2 separate regions of the Homo sapiens genome follow, and region 2 is linked to region 1. Evidence: promoter capture Hi-C in 16 types of primary human blood cells and fetal thymus (Javierre and others, 2016). All regions are on one chromosome and are shown on one strand. The core of a region is centred on a gene start or on the middle of the fragment in contact, and the rest is flanking DNA. Distances in the headings are between cores, read along the strand shown.

The links. Contacts are between HindIII fragments. The CHiCAGO score rates a contact against its expected background, and 5 or more counts as called.
Region 2: a fragment that was not itself captured here is called in contact with the fragment with the promoter of LINC01973 in region 1 in 1 of 17 cell types (megakaryocytes); the score reaches 8.3 in megakaryocytes.

What each region holds. Positions count from the first base shown.
Region 1 is chr17:77,881,851-77,885,884 of GRCh38, forward strand. LINC01973 (long intergenic non-protein coding RNA 1973) reads right to left here and starts at 2,237. Exons shown (of 2, transcript NR_028337.1): 1 at 2,072-2,237; 2 at 1-1,688. RefSeq lists an enhancer at 715-1,074. The HindIII fragment of the contact is 12,286 bases long and covers 1-4,034 here.
Region 2 is chr17:77,536,232-77,540,554 of GRCh38, forward strand. LOC400622 (a long non-coding RNA gene) reads left to right here. Exons shown (of 3, transcript NR_148967.1): 3 at 9-367. Among named protein-coding and RNA genes, the nearest start is that of MIR4316, 140 kb to the left of the region's middle. The HindIII fragment of the contact is 3,244 bases long and covers 1,413-4,323 here.

The DNA.
Region 1 (4,034 bases), core at 987-3,486:
GGCCCCTTCCAGTGGAGGGGGCAGCAAGTGAGCAGGGGCGGTCAGAGGGGTGGGAATCACAGGGGAGAACAGTGACTAGGGAGAGTGATAGAGAAGTGTGTGCCACTGCTGTGTGCATGTGCAAATGTGCATGTATGCACATAGGTATGTGTGCTGCACGCTCAAGTGTGTAGTATGTGTGCAAGTGTGTAGGTGGGTGTGTGCAAATGTGTGAGCAAGCACAGCTGTGTGCAAATGTGTAAGTGTGCACTGTATAGGCACAAACGGATATGTGTCAGTGTACAAGTGCTGCTTGTGCAAGTTTGTGGCTGTGTGTGCAAATGTATGCGAGTGTGTCTGTGCCTGTATGCAAATGGGTGTATGCAAGTGTGCAGGTGTGTCACACAAGTGCAAGGGTGCATTTCTGCAAATGCACATGTGTGCAAGTGTGTGGACATGCGTGCAAATGGGTGCTAGTGCACAGGTGTGTGGGTGTGCAAGTGGATGCAAACGCATATATGTGCACATGTGTTCAATGCATGTGTGTGCAACTGTGCACATGTGTGCAAGTGTGTGTGTGTGAGTGCCCTGGAAAAGAGAGAGGGAGAGGAGGAGGGAAGGAAGAGCAGAAAAATACCTATGGTAAAAGCCAGCACTGCCCAGCAGACATGTCCAATGGAGAGCACCAAGAGGCAGAAACAGCCTCTCTTTGTTCCTGTCTCAGTAGCGGGCATAGTAGCAGTACAATGACTTGTGCTGCCTGCCTGGCAGATCACACAGGTCACAGATGCCTCCTCGTCACAGGATGTGGTCGCTGCACCCTGTCCTAACTCCAGTCCTTTCCCTCACCTTCACCAGCTAACCCCTTCCCTCCAAACCCCCTCCCCTGATTGCTGTCAAGGTCAGCAGGCCCCGCCCCATCCATGAGCGAGCCAAGGGTAGTATCTGCTCAATGCCGTCACTCCGTGTGGGCCAGCTTCTCCTCGCCCAGGAACAAGGGGATTTCCTGACTGTCTCTTTAGGCAGGGTGACGTAAGCTGTTTTGCTAGTGTAGAGCCAAAGAGCCTTCCAGGCCTTCATTTATCTAGATGTGGAGTCCTTTGGGAATGAGCATAGCAGGCTTGTTCCTGCCCAGCATCTTGGAAGATCTCGGACTAGTGCTCCCTGCAGATGATTGGGACCTAAGAAACAGAGCCCTGCAGAAGGACTGGCAAGACCACATGTCCCGGGGTGGCCAGTGTTTCCAGCAGTGACACTTGGGATTGAAACCAACCTTTGCAGAGCGAGAGACCCCACAGTACCAGCTGTGCCACTGACTGGGAAGTGCCCAGCCTTGGCCCTAGAGTGGGAAAATGGCCTGGACATGAAATGTGTGGGGACCTGACACCTGTGCTGGCCCCTGCAGCAGAGGCAGAGGCCCAGGCAGGCGGGGACCTGCTTTTCCCAGGGCTCTCCAGGGAGTCCCTGCACAGCCCTCAAGAGCCTGCCCTGCGTTATCATCCTCAAGGTCAAGAAACTTCCTTGGGGGAGTCTCCAGAGACAGGCAGCCTGGCCATGCCCTGGCGGACCCACCCACTCTACTCCAGGACCTCCGGATTTGGTCTGGGAGTCTCGGCACAGGGGAGTCTGCCATCGAACCAGCCACCTGCATCAGAGCCGGGTCCACCTCCTCCGTCCCGCTGTGGCTCTTTGAGCCTCAGTTTCTTCATCTGTAAGGTGGGAGGTGAGGATGACCAATTCAGTGTCTGGTGAAGACAAAATTTATCCCCTTGTCCAGGGCTGGCCTGGAGCAGACCCTCCCCTTCCTCCTCATCTCGGCCCCAGGACAAGCATGGCTTCCCTCCCTAGCCTTCCTCCCTTGGAGCTCCAGGCACTGAGGACTCCTGGCAGATCTCATTCATCTCTCTCTCTCTCCCTCTCTCCCTCTCTCTCTCTCCCCGACCCCCCCCCCCCCGCCAGAAAGCCACGTAGATATCCCTCTCTCCTGGAAAACTTTCCTGCCCCCAAGCCCCGGTGGGGTGCCTCTCCTACGGCCTTGCATGTATCCCAAACTTTCCCTACCTTCCCATCAATCGTGGTGAGCTGGAATTACCTGATAATCTACCTGCCTCTCTCTTGGACTACAGTCCCCTTGAGAGTGAGACTGGGTCCAGTAGACTGTTGTCTGCCCAGTGCCCAGCACAGGGTAGATGTCCATGAAATATACATGGACCAGTGACCGACTGAGATTGAGACTTGACTGGAAGCATCTTCCAAATGGCTGCTGGGAGAGCAGCCCATCCGGCACCCCAGCTCATGCCCCATCCCCCACTCCTCCAGCTCCTCTCCTCCCAAGTCCCTGCCGTCACAGCCAAGCTCGCGCTCCAAGGCAGCTCTGCCATCATCTGATGCAGACTCGTCAGCTGTTGCCATGGAGACCAGCCAGCAGTGAGCTCTGTGCCCTCCTGCTGCAGGGGCCGAGCAGAGCATGGGGGCACCCTGAAGCGTGCAGAGAGAACCCATCAAGGAGGAGGCGGGGGGAACGCGTGGCTCTGCATCCAGGCAAACCTGGAGTTGGGCCCCATCTGCCCCTACTCTCCTTCCTACACCTGTGACACCTCAGGCAAGTTGCTTCATCTCCCTGAGCCTCCCGTGAAATGCAGAAGATCCCAGCCACCCACTGTTATTGAAGGATGGGATCGACCCATTAGGGCATGGAGCTGTCTCTGTGTCATTTTGGTGTGCCAACCCCTGCCTTGGCTTTCTGGGGGCTGTTTTGAGTGTTCTCTCCCCTTGAACTTTGTGTCCAACTCTCCCCACCTCAACTCAGATGAGGCTGAAGGAAGGAGAGATTCCATTCCTACAATAGCACAAAAAGATTTTCTGTGACATTTGAAAACAAGAAGAAGCCTACAGGTTTGTTAACCAAATTTTGAACTTGGTCTGGCTCTGAGGGCTACTAATGTGGGGGCCACATTGGTTGCTTCCTGCAGTGAGCTAAGGGCTATGGGCAACTCTGCTCATGAAGAGCTTAAGGTGGCATCTCACTTGCAGGACAGCCTCCAGGTCTCACTGGAGTCAGGGAAAGTGATGGTTGTCCTATCTCCTTGTTGCTTTAAATGGTAGCTATCTCTGAAGATGGCTGAATGTCCCTGTGCCCACTGGGGACTTTGGGAACAGAAACATGCCAAGATGCTACAACCGGCCCTGGGCACAAAGCCACCTCTCCAGCTTTCCATGCCCAGCATTAGTCCTGGCATGGAGCTGAACACCTGTGTCTGAGGCAGGCCTAGGCCCTGATGCAAAATGTACCACCCACCTCCTTCTGCCAAATGTCAACTCGACCCAGCTGCAAGGCAGAGAAAACTTGGCAGTGTTCCCAAAGGGGACAGGAGATTGTCTCTTTTGTTAAATGAATGGATGGATGGATGGAGGATGGATGGATAGATAGATAGATGGGTGGATGGGTGAAAGGGTGGGTGGATAGGTGGTTGGATGGATGGGTGGATGATTGGATGGATGGGTGGATGGATGGGTGGGTGGGTGGGTGGTGAATGGGTGGGTGGGTAGATAACTGGATGGGTGGATGGGTGGTTGAATCGGTGGATGACTAGGTGAAAGAATGGATGAATGGATGGGTGGGTGGATGAATGGATGGGTGGGTGGGTAGGTGGATGGATGGATGGGTGAGTGGGTGGATGGATGGATGGGCGGGTGGGTGGATGGATAGGTGGGTGGGTGGATGATTGGAGACAGGAAAGAAAGAGAGAGAGAGAGAGAGAAAGGGAGGGAGGGAGGGAAGGAGGGAGGGAGGGAGGAAAGAAAGAAGGGAAGGAAGGAAGGAAGGAAGGAAGGAAGGAAGGAAGGAAGGAAGGAAGGAGAGAGACAGAAAGAGAGAGAGAAAGAAAAGAAAGAGAGAGAGAAGGAAGGGAGGAAGGAAGGAAGGGAGGGAGGGAGGGAGAGAGGAAGGAAGGAAAGAAGGAAGGAAGGAGAGAGAAAGAGAGAGAGAGAAAGAAAAAGAAAGAAAGAAAGACACAAAGAGAGAGAGAAGGAAGGGAGAAAGGAAAGAAGGAAGG
Region 2 (4,323 bases), core at 1,785-4,284, 340 kb before region 1:
TCTTTCAGAAAACTGTGTATTCTTCAGAACATCATGATAACCTGGCACTCATGGGTCTATGGAGAGAATTCAGGGGGTCTGGGAGCTTGGATGGAATAAATTTGCATCTTTATTTTCAGGAAAGTTTTACTGAAGTTTAGCATTTTCTTTCATTATAAATGGAATCAGTATAACCCAATAGTATGAGCAGTTACTTCTCCGCAACATCAAAGTGGCTGCAGATATCTCAAAATAGTATTTACATTTATCATAACTTAGAAATTTGGGTGGTAATTAAACCAGCAACTATTCTTTGTTTAATGCATTAAGAAAGAAGTATGTATACTATCATATCTCAATTAAAAATATTTTAAGAACTGGATTTTAACTTTATTGGTTTCCTTTGTAACTCTCTGTATTTCATTTTAGGCATTTAAAAATATTATTTTGAGAAGGGCTTCCGCAGATGTCAGAGGTGTCCATGGCAGAGCCATGATTAAGATCCGCTGGTGTAGACTACAGCAGGTGTGTGCGTCTGAGGTTGGTATGGAAGTTGTGTTTGTGTTCAAATCCTAGTCTCCCATCTCATAGCTGCACAAGGTGTCCCCTGATCCATCACTTTATTATTATTATTATTATTTTTTCTTGGGATGGAGTCTTGCTCTGTCACCCAGGCTGGAGTGCAGTGGCACAATCTCAGCTCATTGCAACCTCTGCCTTCTGGGTTCAAGCAATTCTCCCTCAGCCTCCCGAGTAGCTGGGACTACAGGCATGAGCCACCATGCCTGGCTAATTTTTTTTTGTATTTTTAGTAGAGATGGGCTTTCACCATGTTGGCCAGGCTGGTCTCAAACTCCTGACCACAAGTGATCCACCTGCCTCAGCCTCCCAGAGTGCTAGGATTACAGGCATGAGCCACTGTGCCCGGCCTCATCACTTTAAAATAGGAATAATAGCCACCATACAAGGGTATTGGGAACGATTAAAAGTGTTAGTACTACAGGAATAATTCTAGGACCTAACCTCATACAGCTGCAGGAGCACTGAATGAGATAATCCATGAGGTTAGGTCCTAGCATTATTCCTGTTTTACAGATGGGGAAGTTGAGGTTTATTTCAAGTAAGTGCCCAAGGTCACATAGCTAGGAAGTGGTAGAACTAGGATTCGAGCCCCAGCCATTGGACAGCGGATCCCATCCCAGATCCTATATTGCCCTCCAAAAAGTCAAGCACCCCTGGGTCAGTGGAAGTTGCAATCTGGGTCATACAGAGTCTGGAGGCCAGTCTCCAATTTCTAGGCTCTTAGAGCCCTCATTTGACCTTGAGCTCTAACAAAGTGCTCACAAACATGTGCCAGTGACTTGCCACAATGAAGGACAGTTGTGTGGGTCTATGGTGGGGTGATGCGTTGCTTCTTACTGAATGTGAAATAAAGCTTAGGAACACTAGATCTGTGTGCTTCAGGAGTGGTGGGGATTGCCCTGGTTGAGTGACTGGAGCATTAAGTGAGATGGGATCTTTGGTGTCATCCTATGATGATGGTGACAGTGGCAGTGATGATGACGACAATCACTTTCTTCCTCCTCCTCTTCCTCTTCTTCTTCTGCTGCTCCTCCTCCTCCTCCTCCTTCTTCTCCTTCTTTTTTTTTTTGAGAACAAGTCTCTCTCTGTCACCCAGGCCGGAGTGCAGTGGCACAATGTCGGCTCACTGCAACCTCCACCTACCGGGTTCAAGCGATTCTTCCGCCTCAGCCTCCTGAGTAGCTGGGACTACAGGCGTCCGCCACCACGCCCAGCTAATCTTTGTATTTTTAGTAGAGACGGGTTTCACCATGTTGGCCAGGCTGGTCTCGAACTCCTGACCTCAGGTGATCCACCCGCCTCAGCCTTCCAAAGTGCTGGGATTACAGGTGTGAGCCACTGCGCCCGGCCGGCAATCACTTTCATGCAGCATGCCCTTTGGGTGCCTACCGTGTGTCGGGTCCTGATGCTGCCCTTGAGGAGCTGACAGTCGGGGAGAAAGGACCAGGAATGTGCTGTCTTACCCCATCACAAAACAAGAGAGAGAATAATGGGTGTCACAAGAGAGGTGCCAGCAGCAGGTGATGGGAGGTTGTCACAATGATAATGAGCTTTAGGTTCAGTGCAGACTTGGCTGGTGGGGCTGGCAAAACCACAGAGATTCAGAGCAGCTGGGGAGAGGCAGTGTACATTAATCTGAACGAATATTAATGTAAGATCTTAATAAAATTACATTTGTGTCTATTTATCTGGCTGTATGAGTTTCCCTAAATTTGGATGGGCATGTTTCAGATGGTTTGGCTTAAGACAGATGTTTTCCTTTTATATAATTCCTTTGTATCTGAGGTCATACTCTGTGAGATTTTGATCTTCAAAATTGGTCCAGACTTATTTTATGTCTCAGCATATGGACTATCTTGGTGAGGGCTCCACGTGCCTTTGTAAAGAACATGTATTCTGTAATCACGGGGTGTAGTGGACCTTAAATATCAATTAGGTCACAATAGTTGTTAGAATGCTCAATGTCCTTACTGATTTTTTGATTTTTTTTGTTTACTGACTCTGTCAGTTGCTGAAAGAAAGGTATTAAAATCTCCAACTGTAATTTTTGGATTTGTCTATTTCTCCTTTTAATTCTGACAGGTTTTGCTTTATTTATTTTGAAATTGTTATTAGATGCATATACATTTAAGATTGTTAGGATTTCCCAATAAACATATCCTTTCGTCATTATGCAGTCTCCCTCTATCTCTTTGGCAATACTCTTTGTCTTGAGCCTATTACAGTAACATAGCCACACCTGTTTTTTGCACTTATTGTTTGCCTGTCATACTTTTTTTTATCCTTTTATTTTTAGTCTGTCTGTGTCTTTATATTTAAAATATATCTCGGCCAGGCACGGTGGCTCACGCCTGTAATCCCAGCACTTTGGGAGGCCAAAGTGGGCAGATCATGAGGTCAGGAGATCGAGACCATCCTGGCTAACACGGTGAAACCTTGTCTCTACTGAAAATACAAAAAATTAGCCAGGCATGGTGGCGGGTGCCTGTATTCCCAGCTACTTGGGAGGCTGAGGCAGGAGAATGGCATGAACCCCAGAGGCAGAGCTTGCAGTGAGCCGAGATTGCGCCACTGCACTCCAGCCTGGGCGACAGAGCGAGACTCCGTCTCAAAAAACAAAACAAAACAAAAAATAAAATGTATCTCTTGGAGATGACACATAGCTGGATCTTGCAGTGTTATTCAGCCAGATTATCTCTGCCTTTTAAGTGGGATGTTCAGTGCATTTCTGTTAAGCGTGATTATAGATGTAGCTGGATTTAGATCTGCCATTATGACATTTGTTCTCTTTTTGTCCCTTCTGTTTTTTTTGTTTTGTTTTGTTTCCCTGTTTCTCTTTTCCTGACTTCTTTTAGGTTAATCATATTTTTTGGTATCCCCATTTTAATTAGTTTATTGGCATTTTAGCTGTACTTTTGCATTTTTAATAGCGGCTAACTTAGGGATTATAATATGTGATACTGTGATATAATAAACAATATATATTTGGACTTTGTTCCTGGTAGAAGAGCTTCTAAAACTTTTAGAGTTTCCTGAATGATAGGGGTGAGAGTCTTGTTAGCCTTAATAAGCCCCTTTCAACCATACCTGAGTTTCTGCTTAGGAGGTGAATCTTGGTGGGCCCCTCCTAGGTAGCAAGACAGGGTCTTGCCCTGTCCACCAAGCTGGAGTGCCGTGGTACAGTCTTGGCTCACTGCAGCCTCAACCTCCCAGGCTCAAGCAATTCTCCCGCCTCAGCCTCCAGAGTAGCTGGGACCACAGGTACATGCCACCATGCCCGGCTAATTTTAAAAAATATTTTTGTAGAGATGGGGGTCTGACTATGTTGCCCATGCTGGTCTTGAACTCCTGCCTCAAATGATCCTCCTGCCTTGGCCTCTCAAAGTGTTGGGATTACGAGCCCCCACACCCAGCCTCAAAGGTGTTTAAAGAACATCTACTTTGTGCTCAGTTTCCTCACTCCTCCATGGAAAGCCTGCAGTGGCTCTCCTTTGCCCTCAGGATACAGCCTGACTCCTTAATCTGGCTTGAAGGCTCATCCTTACCTGCAGGGCCAGGGCGGCTCCTCTCTTGCCCCTTCTGTTGTGTATTTTGCGCTCCAGTTTCTCCGAAGCACCAGGCTGGCTTTGCCATGAGCCATGTCCAATGGCTCCTTCCACCCGGACCCCTGTCCCCACTGCCATCAGCTGACTTTCCCTGTGGCACTCTGCTGACCTTTATTCACATCCTCAACACACCTGCCACCTTCTAGGTGTGGCACTT